2 separate regions of the Homo sapiens genome follow, and region 1 is linked to region 2. The links are contacts of gene promoters, found by promoter capture Hi-C in human tissues and cell types (Jung and others, 2019). All regions are on one chromosome and are shown on one strand. Each heading gives the region's core, a stretch centred on a gene start or on the middle of the fragment in contact. The rest is flanking DNA. Distances are from core to core; before and after follow the strand shown. Region 1 holds the start of MIR208A (microRNA 208a). Region 2 holds the start of ZFHX2 (zinc finger homeobox 2).

Evidence for each region. Contacts are between HindIII fragments. The study calls those that stand out against the background at their distance.
Region 1: a contact is called between a fragment that was not itself captured here and the fragment with the promoter of ZFHX2 in region 2, in 1 of the 25 tissues and cell types used here (H1 embryonic stem cells).

The regions. Positions count from the first base shown.
Region 1 is chr14:23,388,056-23,393,369 of GRCh38, forward strand. It overlaps MYH6 (myosin heavy chain 6), which reads right to left. Exons shown (of 39, transcript NM_002471.4): 23 at 5,287-5,314; 24 at 4,857-5,002; 25 at 4,507-4,597; 26 at 2,002-2,391; 27 at 1,538-1,664; 28 at 1,338-1,456; 29 at 804-1,000; 30 at 100-283. MIR208A (microRNA 208a) reads right to left here and starts at 611; the gene lies at 541-611. RefSeq lists enhancers at 889-1,492, 1,493-2,096. The HindIII fragment of the contact is 7,544 bases long and covers 1-5,022 here.
Region 2 is chr14:23,548,568-23,553,683 of GRCh38, forward strand. It overlaps ZFHX2 (zinc finger homeobox 2), which reads right to left and starts at 3,198. Exons shown (of 10, transcript NM_033400.3): 1 at 2,776-3,198. It also overlaps a transcript of THTPA not described here. RefSeq lists enhancers at 1,990-2,652, 3,502-3,551 and a silencer at 3,132-3,371. The HindIII fragment of the contact is 20,255 bases long and covers 1-5,116 here.

The DNA of each region.
Region 1 (5,314 bases), core at 1-2,500, 160 kb before region 2:
CTCCTCCTCCACCTCCAAGGAGGTTGCCTTTGGCCTCTCACTGAACCCCTCATGCCCCCTTGCCCTGCATGCTGGCTGCGGCCCCCGCCCATGGTCCACCTTGTCAAAGTTTCTCTGCTTCTTGTCCAGGGCTGCAGCAGCAGCATTGGAGCGCTCTACGTCCACCATCAAGTCCTCTATCTCATTCTGTAGCCGGTGCTTGGTCTTCTCCAGTGAGGAGCACTTGGCATTAACAGCCTCCACGGCCTCCTCGGCATCCTGCAGCCGCTGGGCCAGCTTCTTTCTGCCCAGGTGAGGGTGGAGGGTGTGTGTGTGACTCTACTGGGCAACACTGGAGCCTTGGGTGGACCTCCTTCCACCCCCTCCCTATATCTCCTTGAGACACCGTAAGTCCAGCCTAGCAGGAGCTGAGCCTGCTCATGCCTGGAACAGAGTCCGCCAGCACGGGCTGCCCAGGCGTCCTCCCTACCTGCAGTGGCATCTGGGTGTCAGTGCCCCCTGCCCTCACCCCCCACACAGGCTGATCGACGGTAGCTCCTCTGACCAACAAGCTTTTTGCTCGTCTTATACGTGAGCATCAGGTATAACCCGGGCCAAAAGCTCGCCCGTCACAGGAAGTGGGTCAGGGCCAGCCAGAGTTCACAGAGCAAAGAGTTCAGGCTTTCTTCCAAGCACTTCTGTTGCCCTCCGAGTTCCTCCTGTCTCTTCCACTTCCGTCTCATGACCACTTTGCCTGTCCCCACCCCAGGTCCTCTCGCCCCTTCCTCTCTGAGAGTCAGGTTAAGGGGGTATCTGGAGCTCACTTGGCCTCTTCGAGCTCCTCAGTCCGCTGAATGGCGTCCGTCTCATACTTGGTCCTCCACTGGGCCACCTCCGAGTTGGCCTTGGACAGGACGCGCTGCAGCTCGGCCTTGGCCTCTGTCTCCTCCTCGTACTGCTCCCGCAGCAGGTCGCAGTCATGCCGGGCCGACTGCAGTGCATGGGCCAGGGCGTTCTTCGCCTGGGGAGGGGGGGGGGCACCAGGAGGTGGGAGGGACTCCCTGTGCCCCATTCTCTAGATTCTCTTCTTATGTAGTACTTCAACCAAGCCCAGCCTTATTCACCATGTGGGCTGATGTGGCACCTCACTGTTTGAGGAGTTTCCCAGTCTGCTCACCCCATCCCCTTACGAATAAGAAAAGAGGCATTAAATGACGCTTAGCTGCAGGGCAGAACCTAGACTGGAGGGTCTTTCCCTTGCAGAGGACTCTTTCCAGCTCCAGGCTCCATTTCTGGCACTGAGATGAATTGCCCCAGGGCTGCCATCAAGCCTGCCCACCCTCCCCACTGGGCCTCACCTTGCCCTCCTCCTCCAGCTGCCTTTTGAGGTCCTCCATTTGCTGGGTATAAGAGAGCTTCCCCCGGGTCAGCTGCGAGATTAGCGCCTCCTTTTCCTCTAGCTGCCGGGCCAACTCTCCTGGAGGTGAAATGAGGGGCTTGTGGGCCATTTCACAAGTCATGTCCTGCCCTAGGCAGGGGGTTGGTTAGGGGCACCCACCATTCTCGGTCTGCAGCTTGGCTCGCTGGGTGGTGAAATCATTGAGGGAGCGTTGGGCCTCTTCTAGCTTCACGCGGTACTCATTGGCCTGGTCCTCCAGCGTCCGAGACACTTTCTCCAGGTTTGCCTTCAGGAAGCAAGACAGGAAGGGTGAGTGTGGGAGGGGCTGAGTCGACCAGAGGAAGGAAGAGAGGGTCAGAGATGGGGAATGCCAGAGGGCAGGAGGGGGACACAGAAGGTGTGGGAGGGCGCAGTCTGAAGAGAGACTTGAATTAAAGAAAGGAGGAACATGAAGAGATAGAGAGGGTGAGGAGAGCCAGAGAGGGGCAGGGGAGACAGGAAGAGAGACCAAAGGGTGATGAAGAGAATGAGAATGACAAGGGAGATGGCAGACAGAGAGAGAAGGCATGGGGGAGGCTCCGCTGTGCAGGGGAGAGGGCGAGGGGAGGCCGAGCAGAGCCTGCCTTGGCCTTGATGATCTGCTCCATGTTGGAGGTGACGTCATCCAGCTCCAGCTTGAACTCGCTCTTCTCCTTCTCCAGCTTCTGCTTCACCCGCTGCAGGTTGTCGATCTGCTCGCCCAGCTCGGCCACGCTGTCGGCGTGCTTCTTGCGCAGGGCCGCGGCAGTGGCCTCGTGCTGCAGCGTGGCCTCCTCCAGGTCCCGCCGCATCTTCTGGAACTCGGCCTCGCGCTTCTTGTTCATCTCGATCTGCACGGACGTGGCCCCGCCGGCCTCTTCCAGCCGCTCGCTGATCTCCTCCAGCTCCCGAGACAGGTCTGAGCGCAGCTTCTCCACCTTAGCCCTGGCGGTGCGCTCGGCCTCCAGCTCCTCCTCCAGCTCCTCGATGCGTGCCTGGGTCAGACACAAAGGGCTCAGACCCACCGCCTGGACCCCTCCACTGGAATCCCCCCGGCTCTGAAAAGCTACCAGGAACTTAGGTTCCTCTCAAGCAGTGGTTCTCAACTAGGGGCAATTTTGTGCCCCAGGGAACAGTTGGCAATGTCTGATTGTCATGTCTTGGTGGGGCTTGCTACTGGCATCTAGAGGGTAGGGGCCAGGGATGCTACTAAACATCCTATAATGCATAGGCCATCAATAGGAATTTGGCTGAAGCTCCCAAGGGCATCTCAGACCCAGTGTGAGCATCTGCAGCCCCAAATCCTGAGAACCTGTGGTTGAAGGGGGATCCTGGTATCCTGTGAGATCAAGAAGTTCAGAGTCCCCAGATTCACTAGGCTCTGTTGCGCTATTCATAAGACGGGAAAATGAGTGCTTGTATTTTACAAATATTTGTGACAACATGCCTCGAAACAATCAGATACCTTTGCAATTCTCCAAGTTAACCACAAAGTCCAATCAACCATATTCCTTGCTCTCCCAGGCTTGCTGTGTTTATGCCCAGGGCTGGGTTTCAACATGATTGCTCCCTTCCAGGCCAGGAAAGTGCTAGCAGGCTACTCTCCTCTTCACCTCATCTCCTTATCCTCTTTAAGTGCCCTTACCTCATTTTTTGGGCCTTAGCCTTGGTCTTGACTAAATTGGGAGAATATCGTATCTACCATTTTGATCTGTTGTCTGGCTAGCCAGGAGCAAAACGGGGGTTCAGTGGAAATCCCTTCACCTCGGGTTATGGACAGCTTTAATGGACTGTTCATGGATGGGTCCTACAAGCAGCAGAGAGGACCACCATGCCTCTGCTCCCAGGATGGAGAAGGTGGGACTTCTGAGCAAGATCTTGGGGATGAAGGAGGAGCCATAGCCTATTGCCGAGAGCTGATGAGACTAACAGGACTGTTATTCTGTGTCCAAGAGGCCAAACAAGTTGCCCAGACCTAGGGTAGAAGAACCTGAGGATGGCCCGATATTCTAGCTAAAACCCAGAAGGGGCATCCAAGAAGATGGGAGGGCAAATTACTAATGAAGGCGGGCCAGTCCCTGTGCAGCCCCAGAGGAGTGGAATTGTGTTCATACATTACTTGCAGCCTGGGCCATGGGCCTCAAGTGCAGAGGGGAGACTACCTCTTTCTACCAGCCACAGTCTGCCCCAAAGTGAGAGGACAAGGTCCCGCCCCAGTAGCCGAGTTCCTGTTGCCCTTGGGGTCACTATGTCCAGACCTGGCCATGTAGCTTCTGTAGCTCTATAATGGGGATGGCAGTGGACTTCCAGGTCTCTTCTGACAAACCCGATACTAAAAGCACATTAGGGTTTGAGGTTCATTAAAGCTAAGGGAGACTATGGCTGTTCACTAAATCTTGAGCTGCAGAGGAATGAGAAGGCCATTGAGAAGACAAAACAATACCTTCTTAGGCTAGTGGCTGGCTGACTTCTCTAAATTGGGCTATATTAATATGATACTTGTATAGAATTTCCTAGTTGACAAAATGGTTTCAAATACATTATCCCCTCTGGTCCTGTGTGGTAGGTATTGTCAGTCTCATTTTACAGGTGAGAAGAGAATCTGAGGATCAGGGAGGGTAAGTGACTTGCTCACAGTTGTTGGAATTGGCTCTTATCATGAGTGCCCTATGGGGACTCAGCCTGGGTTAGTGGCTGGGGTTAGTACCGGGAAGAATATGAACAGAGCAGCTCACAGGAAGGTGCTCCTTGAAGCCTTTTTTTTTTTTCACCCTGCGTTCAGAGGGCTGAACTACCAGAGGAAGGGTTAGAGGAGAATAGAGCTCTATCATTTGTCTTAGAGTAGAAAGTCCCTGAGGCAGAGCAGATCTCAGAAGGAGAAGCCCTTTAGTAGGTATGAGTCCCCCTTCTCAAACAGTTTTGCTAACGTAATGTATTCTTGCTCTATGGGGGAAGGCTAGTGTTCCTGAGCGCCTGTAAGTCAGGGATGGTTGGGTCTATGAGGCTGCCTGGAGTTCCAGATATTGTGTAGAACCCTAAGCAGCTGCTGCAGCCTCAGTTACCTCAGGGCTATTGAGCTCCCACTTTCATGCACTGGGAAAAAAAGTCACCTGGTTTTCCTTCAGTTTCTTCTGTAGTTGAAGGGCCAGCACCTGCTCATCCTCAATCTTACTGTTCTGCTGATTAATGTCAAACTCCTTCCTGCAGGAGAAGGGTGGGGGTGGGGGAGTGACAGGTAGCCTTCCTTCCTCTGGGGCTCATTCTCTTCTTGGCCTTAGTATGCCAGAATCGGCACCTCCCCCTCCCCTCGCCAGCCCAGAAAGTGGCGGAAGAGGGCTGTGATTGACCTTATTCCCAGCATACCCAAGGCAACTGTGGCCAGTGGAGGCGCAGCACCCTGCACTCTATCTACCAGGCCAGACACCTCCATTAGCCCCTCCTGGCCACCACAGTCTCCTACTTCTTAAGCTTTTCTTCCAGCTGCAGTTTATCATTTTCCAGGTCCATGATGCTCTCCTGGGTCAGCTTCAGGTCGCCCTCCAGTTTCCGCTTTGCTCGCTCCAGGTCCATGCGCACCTTCTTCTCTTGCTCTAGGGATCCCTCCAGCTGTTGGAGGGAAGAAAATAAGCAAAGTGTGGAAAACATGAAATCCATAGTGTATGCTCTTTTGCCTCCTTCTAAACTTGAAGTCCAGTGGGATTGGAAGTCAAACCAACAGAGAAATCCTGCAAGCACAAAGGATTCAGAGACCTACTGTAGTGAGGAACTACAGAGAGCAAAAAAGCTTCAGGGGCCATAGAAGTTAATTCTAGGGATCAGGACTTTCTGGGCCATTGGTGTTGCCTGCAAAATCTTGCTCTGAGAGCAGGAGCATGGTTCTTACTACTCACATCATCCACCTGCTGCTCCAGCTTGACC
Region 2 (5,116 bases), core at 1,948-4,447:
AGGGGCTGGGAAGATTCAAGTTCCTCTCAGCTGAAGTTTATGGGAATTCTACTTTTTCATCTCTTTGCTTGTGTTCTGGCTTGGGAATGAAATACAAAGGCCTTTCGTGGGGGTAGTGAGTGATTAGGCCAATGAAATGAATGCTCGTGAGGTTCTCTCTCTCTCTGTCTCTTCCCTGGATATTTCTGCTTTCTCTCCCTCTCTTGGGCATTTCTCTCTTCTGGGGCTTCGCCCAGTGGTATTCCTGCTATTTGTGCTATGCTTTTTTTCCAACCCCCCGGCGCCCCCGCAGTGCTCTCGCTCTCTTCGCATCAGTCACGCTGTGTCCTCCTCACACCAGAGGCATTTGTTTCCTTTGATACCTCATCCTCTCCTCTTTTCCTCCTACCAAGCTCTGTGCAGCTCTGATCTGCCTCAGCACTCCTTCGTTTGCCATCCATTTACCTTCTTTGTACCATACTCTCTTCCCATCTCATCTTGTTCAGCAATTCCTCCCTTCCCCCTCTTTACTACTGTATTAATTTCATAGTGCTTTTTCTGTTGACCTCCACTTTAGGAATATTCTATCATTTCTCTTCCTTTTACCTTCTGTATTGCTATCAACACGTTTTGTTTCATTCTTCCAATTTCTTATTAATCACCCCTTGGTTCCTCCCCTGCCCCCGAGTCCGCATAGATTTTCCTCCCTTCCTTTGCACATCCCTCACGTCATACATTTCTCTACCCCATGTGTTTATTGCACCGACCACCCCTTTCTTTCTTTAATTCTGTTCACCTCTGAAATCGTCCATCTTCTGCCCATGTCTGCCTGCTCCTTTTACCTTTCCAAGCTCCTGAGGTTTGGAAAAACAATGATGGGCTAAAAACTAAGGTAAACTCTCCAGATCCTTTATCCACCCTTACTGTTCTTCAGGCTAAATGAACTTGGCTCCTTACATACGATAGCTTTTATTACACTAATAAACACTGCCTCATTAAAAAAAAATGGTGCTGGATCTAAATATGATAGTAGCAGGGGCCTAGGAAGAAGATGAACTAAAAAGTGAAGAAAAAGCAACTGATATCTAGAATGAACTGAAGGATGGGGGGCAACCAGGCAGGGTGGAGCTTAGAGTCCTAGGGAATGTCCCCTTACAAAATCAAAGTTGACAGTTAACTGACATAATGGCACTGACTGATGGAGGGGTTATATGCCCCTGGAAGCTCATTAAATTTATTTCTTGGCCTGTTTATGTGCCTTCACAAACCATACCCCACACCTCTCCCAGCCCTTTGCTTGCTGGTACTTTCTGCTGCTGGGGTTAAAATGCTGGATAAGAGGAAAAGGGATAAAAGAAACTAGAAACTTAGGGTGATCAAGAAGAAAAGGTAGGAAGAGGGCAGATTATGGGAACAAAGGTGGAAACTCAGAGCTCATGGGAAACAGATGGAAAAAAGGGGTGAAGCAAAATGGGGAAATAAAAAATATACAATGATACAGTGGGGGAAGGGAGTAAAATTAAGTCAGCAGGGAAGAGGTTTTGTTGTGCGAAGCTCCTGGAAAGGCAGATGACACGCATGAGACCAGAAGGTGAGGTTCTGATGAGGGAGACAGGCACATGGCAAAGGGGACAGTCAACAATGCTAGGAAGTTCCAAAGCTTCTCTGGTGATGGTGGAAGAGGAGGCTGTCCTGGCCATGCTGAAGGCACTAGAGGCTTTGGCGAAGACACATTTGCTCCATCATCCCACTCCTCCAGGCCCTGACTGTGACCACCACAATCATGACTGATAAGCAAATTCCAAAGTAGCCTGAAAAGGCCAGAGATATCCAGACAGACTCTGAAGGAGAGGGCATGGAATCCTAGACCGACAGAACAGGCAGCCAAGGCGTGACACATAGTGATAGAGACACACAAGGAGAGGATCACTCAGATGGGAAGGGTCACAAGTGGAGACAGTGACATACAGATCCAGAGATGGATGGGATGGAAGAGACAAGATGAAGAACAGCAAAACCAAAAGTCAGGGACACATGGACAGAGATCAGCGGGGCTACAGGCACAGCGAGGAAGCGTGGTCCTGTGCTTGAAAATGATAGGGCTGCTCAGAGGGGCAGACGAGCGGATGGGGGTGGTAGGATGGGCGTGCAGGACAGACACGCTTCACCTTGAATGGGCTTATGGCCTCCCCTCACCTACTCAACACTTTCAAAAAAAGGAATGGAAAGCCCAACTTCAGCCAAAAACGAACGAAGACTGAGAGTATCCACGTCCCCTCCCACTCCACGCCCCAGCGCGCTAGCCCATCCATCAGCCCGCCGGCCGCGGTTCTCCCATCCCACAGCCGGCGGGGGGCCGCCGAGACCCAGGACCCTCCAGGCTGACAGCTCTGAGCCCTCACACTCACCGGGCCTCCCCTTCCCCCCGGGATCCCCGCTCCCTGCCCAACTCGGCGCGGTCCGTCTAGGCTTTCCATACCCTTCGTCTGTCCGGCGGGCCTCTGCCTTTCCCGTTCCCGTTTCTCCCTCCACCCCCGCATCTCTCTTCCCCCATCCTCGCGCACGCCCTCTTCCTCCCACACCCCTGTCTGCTATCTCCCAGGGCTCTCGGTCTGTCTGTCCGTCCGTCCTTGTCCCCTCCCCCAGCCCCTTCCCGTCCCTCTCCGTCCCCTCCAGCGGCAGTCTCCAAGCGCCTCCTCTCCCGTCTCGAGCTTCCAAAGAGCAAGGAAGGGAAGAAGAGAGAGAGGGAGAGGAGAAAAAAACCAACCCAGCAGCATCGGAAATCGATGCACTTACACCTCAGCTGGAAGCAGGGACGGGAGTCGAACCGCGGCCACCGAGCAGCGCGAGGCGGGGAGGGGAGGGGGCGGCTCTTGGAAGGGACTTCTCCGATGTGTTGATTCCTCTTTTTTCCCCTCCTCCTCCCTCCCTCCAGCGCTCGCTCCGGGGCGTCAGGGACGGAGACGGAAAAAAATAAATAAATAAATTCACGGCGGTGAGGGAAGTGAAGGAAAATAATCAATGCTATTTGGCTGCGGCTGAAGTGTTTCCCCGGCTTCGTGAGGGGGTTTCCATTGATTCACCCTGGGCACTCGCTCGCTCCCTGCCTCCTCCTCCTCCTCCTCCTTCTCCTCCTCGCCCTCCTCCTCCTCCTCCTCCTCGCCCTCACTCCTCCGCCTCATTCACTGGCTGGAGTCTAGGCGTCCCACACAATGGAATAATCAATACCCAGGCGCCCGGGGCTGCCCCACTGAGCAGGTGCAGCGACCCGCCCGCCGCGGCGCATGCCGGGAGTTGTAGTCTGTTCGCGCCCGCCCGCCTGCCTCGCGGGACCCAGGGCCGGGGGCAGGCCGGCCAGCCCACCAGGTCGCCTCCAGGTTCAAGCCGGTGCCTGCAAAGAGGGCAGGCCCCTTTAAACTCTTTTCCGTCTCCTCTCCTCTTCATCCTGTGGCCTGCAGAAACCATACATGTGTTTTGTTGTTTTGTTTTAAATCAGCTTCAGAACAAGCCCTGAGCCGCCCAAGGCCTCCTTTTTTCATTCTCTTCTTCCTGCCTTATTATTCCGCCTCCCCCATCTCCCCCCGCGAAATTGGGTACTAGAACCTTCTCTACCGCAGCAATTACTCTTTAGTCTCTGAGAGCTTCTGCCTCCTCCACACGGTTACATAGTCCCCTGAGCTGGGTTGGGGGAGGTTCGGGCTCCTCCTCATCTTCAGTTTATCGCTTATTAAGTGCTCCTGAATTTTTTTTTTTTTTTTTTTTCTGGAGACGGAGTCTCACTCAGTCGCCCAGGTTGGAGTGCAGTGGTGCGATCTCGGCTCACTGCAACCTCCACCACCGGGTTCAAGCGATTCTCCTACCTCAGCCTCCTAAGTAGCTGGGATTACAGGCATGCATCAACACACCCAGCTAATTTTTGTATTTTTAGTAGAGACGGGGTTTCACCACGTTGGTCAAGCTGGTCTCGAACTCCTGACCTTGTGATCCGCCTGCCTCGGCCTCCCAAAGTGCTGGGATTACAGGTGTGAACCACCACCGCGCCCAGCCCGTTTTTTTGTTTGTTTGTTTTTTTCTTGAGACAGAGTCACTCTGTCGCCCAGGCTGCAGTGCAGTGGCATGATCCCGGCTCACTGCAACCTTCACCTCCCAGGTTCAAGTGATTCTCCTGCCTCAGCCTCCCAAGTAGCTGGGATTGTAGGTGCCCACCACCATGCCCTGCTAATTTTGTATTTTTAGTAGAGACGGGGGTTTCACCATCTTAGCCAGGCTGGTCTCGAACTCCTGACCTCAGGTGATCCACCGGCCTCAGCCTCCCAAAGTCCTGGGATTATAGGGGTGATCCACCTCACCCGGCCGCTCCTGTATTCTAATAATAATTTTTAAGATTTCTTGAATGCACAGGGACAGTTCCAAGCACTTTTACATACATTGTTTACTCCTCTCAATACCTCAAGCATGAGGTAGATGCTATTATAGTCTCATTTATTGAGGAAACTAAGGCACAAACAAGTGAATTAACAGGCCCAAGGTCCAATGGCCAATAAGTAAGTGACAGTGCCAGGACTCAAAAACCTCCATGGTCTGGCTCCAGGGCCCATACTAACTGCTATAGCCTACTTCTCTTAAACAACACAACAAAACCCTGAAGTTCACATGACAAAAAGGAGAGATAAATGAACATTTTGAGTTTATACTATGTGACAGTTTATGACTGAATCCTCACAGGTAACTGTGAGGCAGGCCACATTTTCTCAATGAAAAAGCAGAGGCTGGCCGGGCATGGTGGCTCACTCCTGTAATCCCAGCACTTTGGGAGGCTGAGGTGGGTAGATCACCTGAGGTCAGGAGTTCGAGACCAGCCTGACCAACATGGTGAAACCCTGTCTCTACTAAAAATACAAAATTAGCTGGGCGTGGTGGTGGGCACCTGTAATCCCAGCTACTCGGGAGGCTGAGGCAGAAGAATCGCTTGAACCCGGGGGGCAGAGGTTGCGGTGAGCCAAGATCACACCATTGCACTCCAGCCTGGGCAACAAGAGTGAAACTCCGTCTCAAAACCAAAAACAGGCCGGGCGTGGTGGCTCACACCTGTAATCCCAGCACTTTGGGAGGTGGAGGCGGGTGGATCACAAGATCA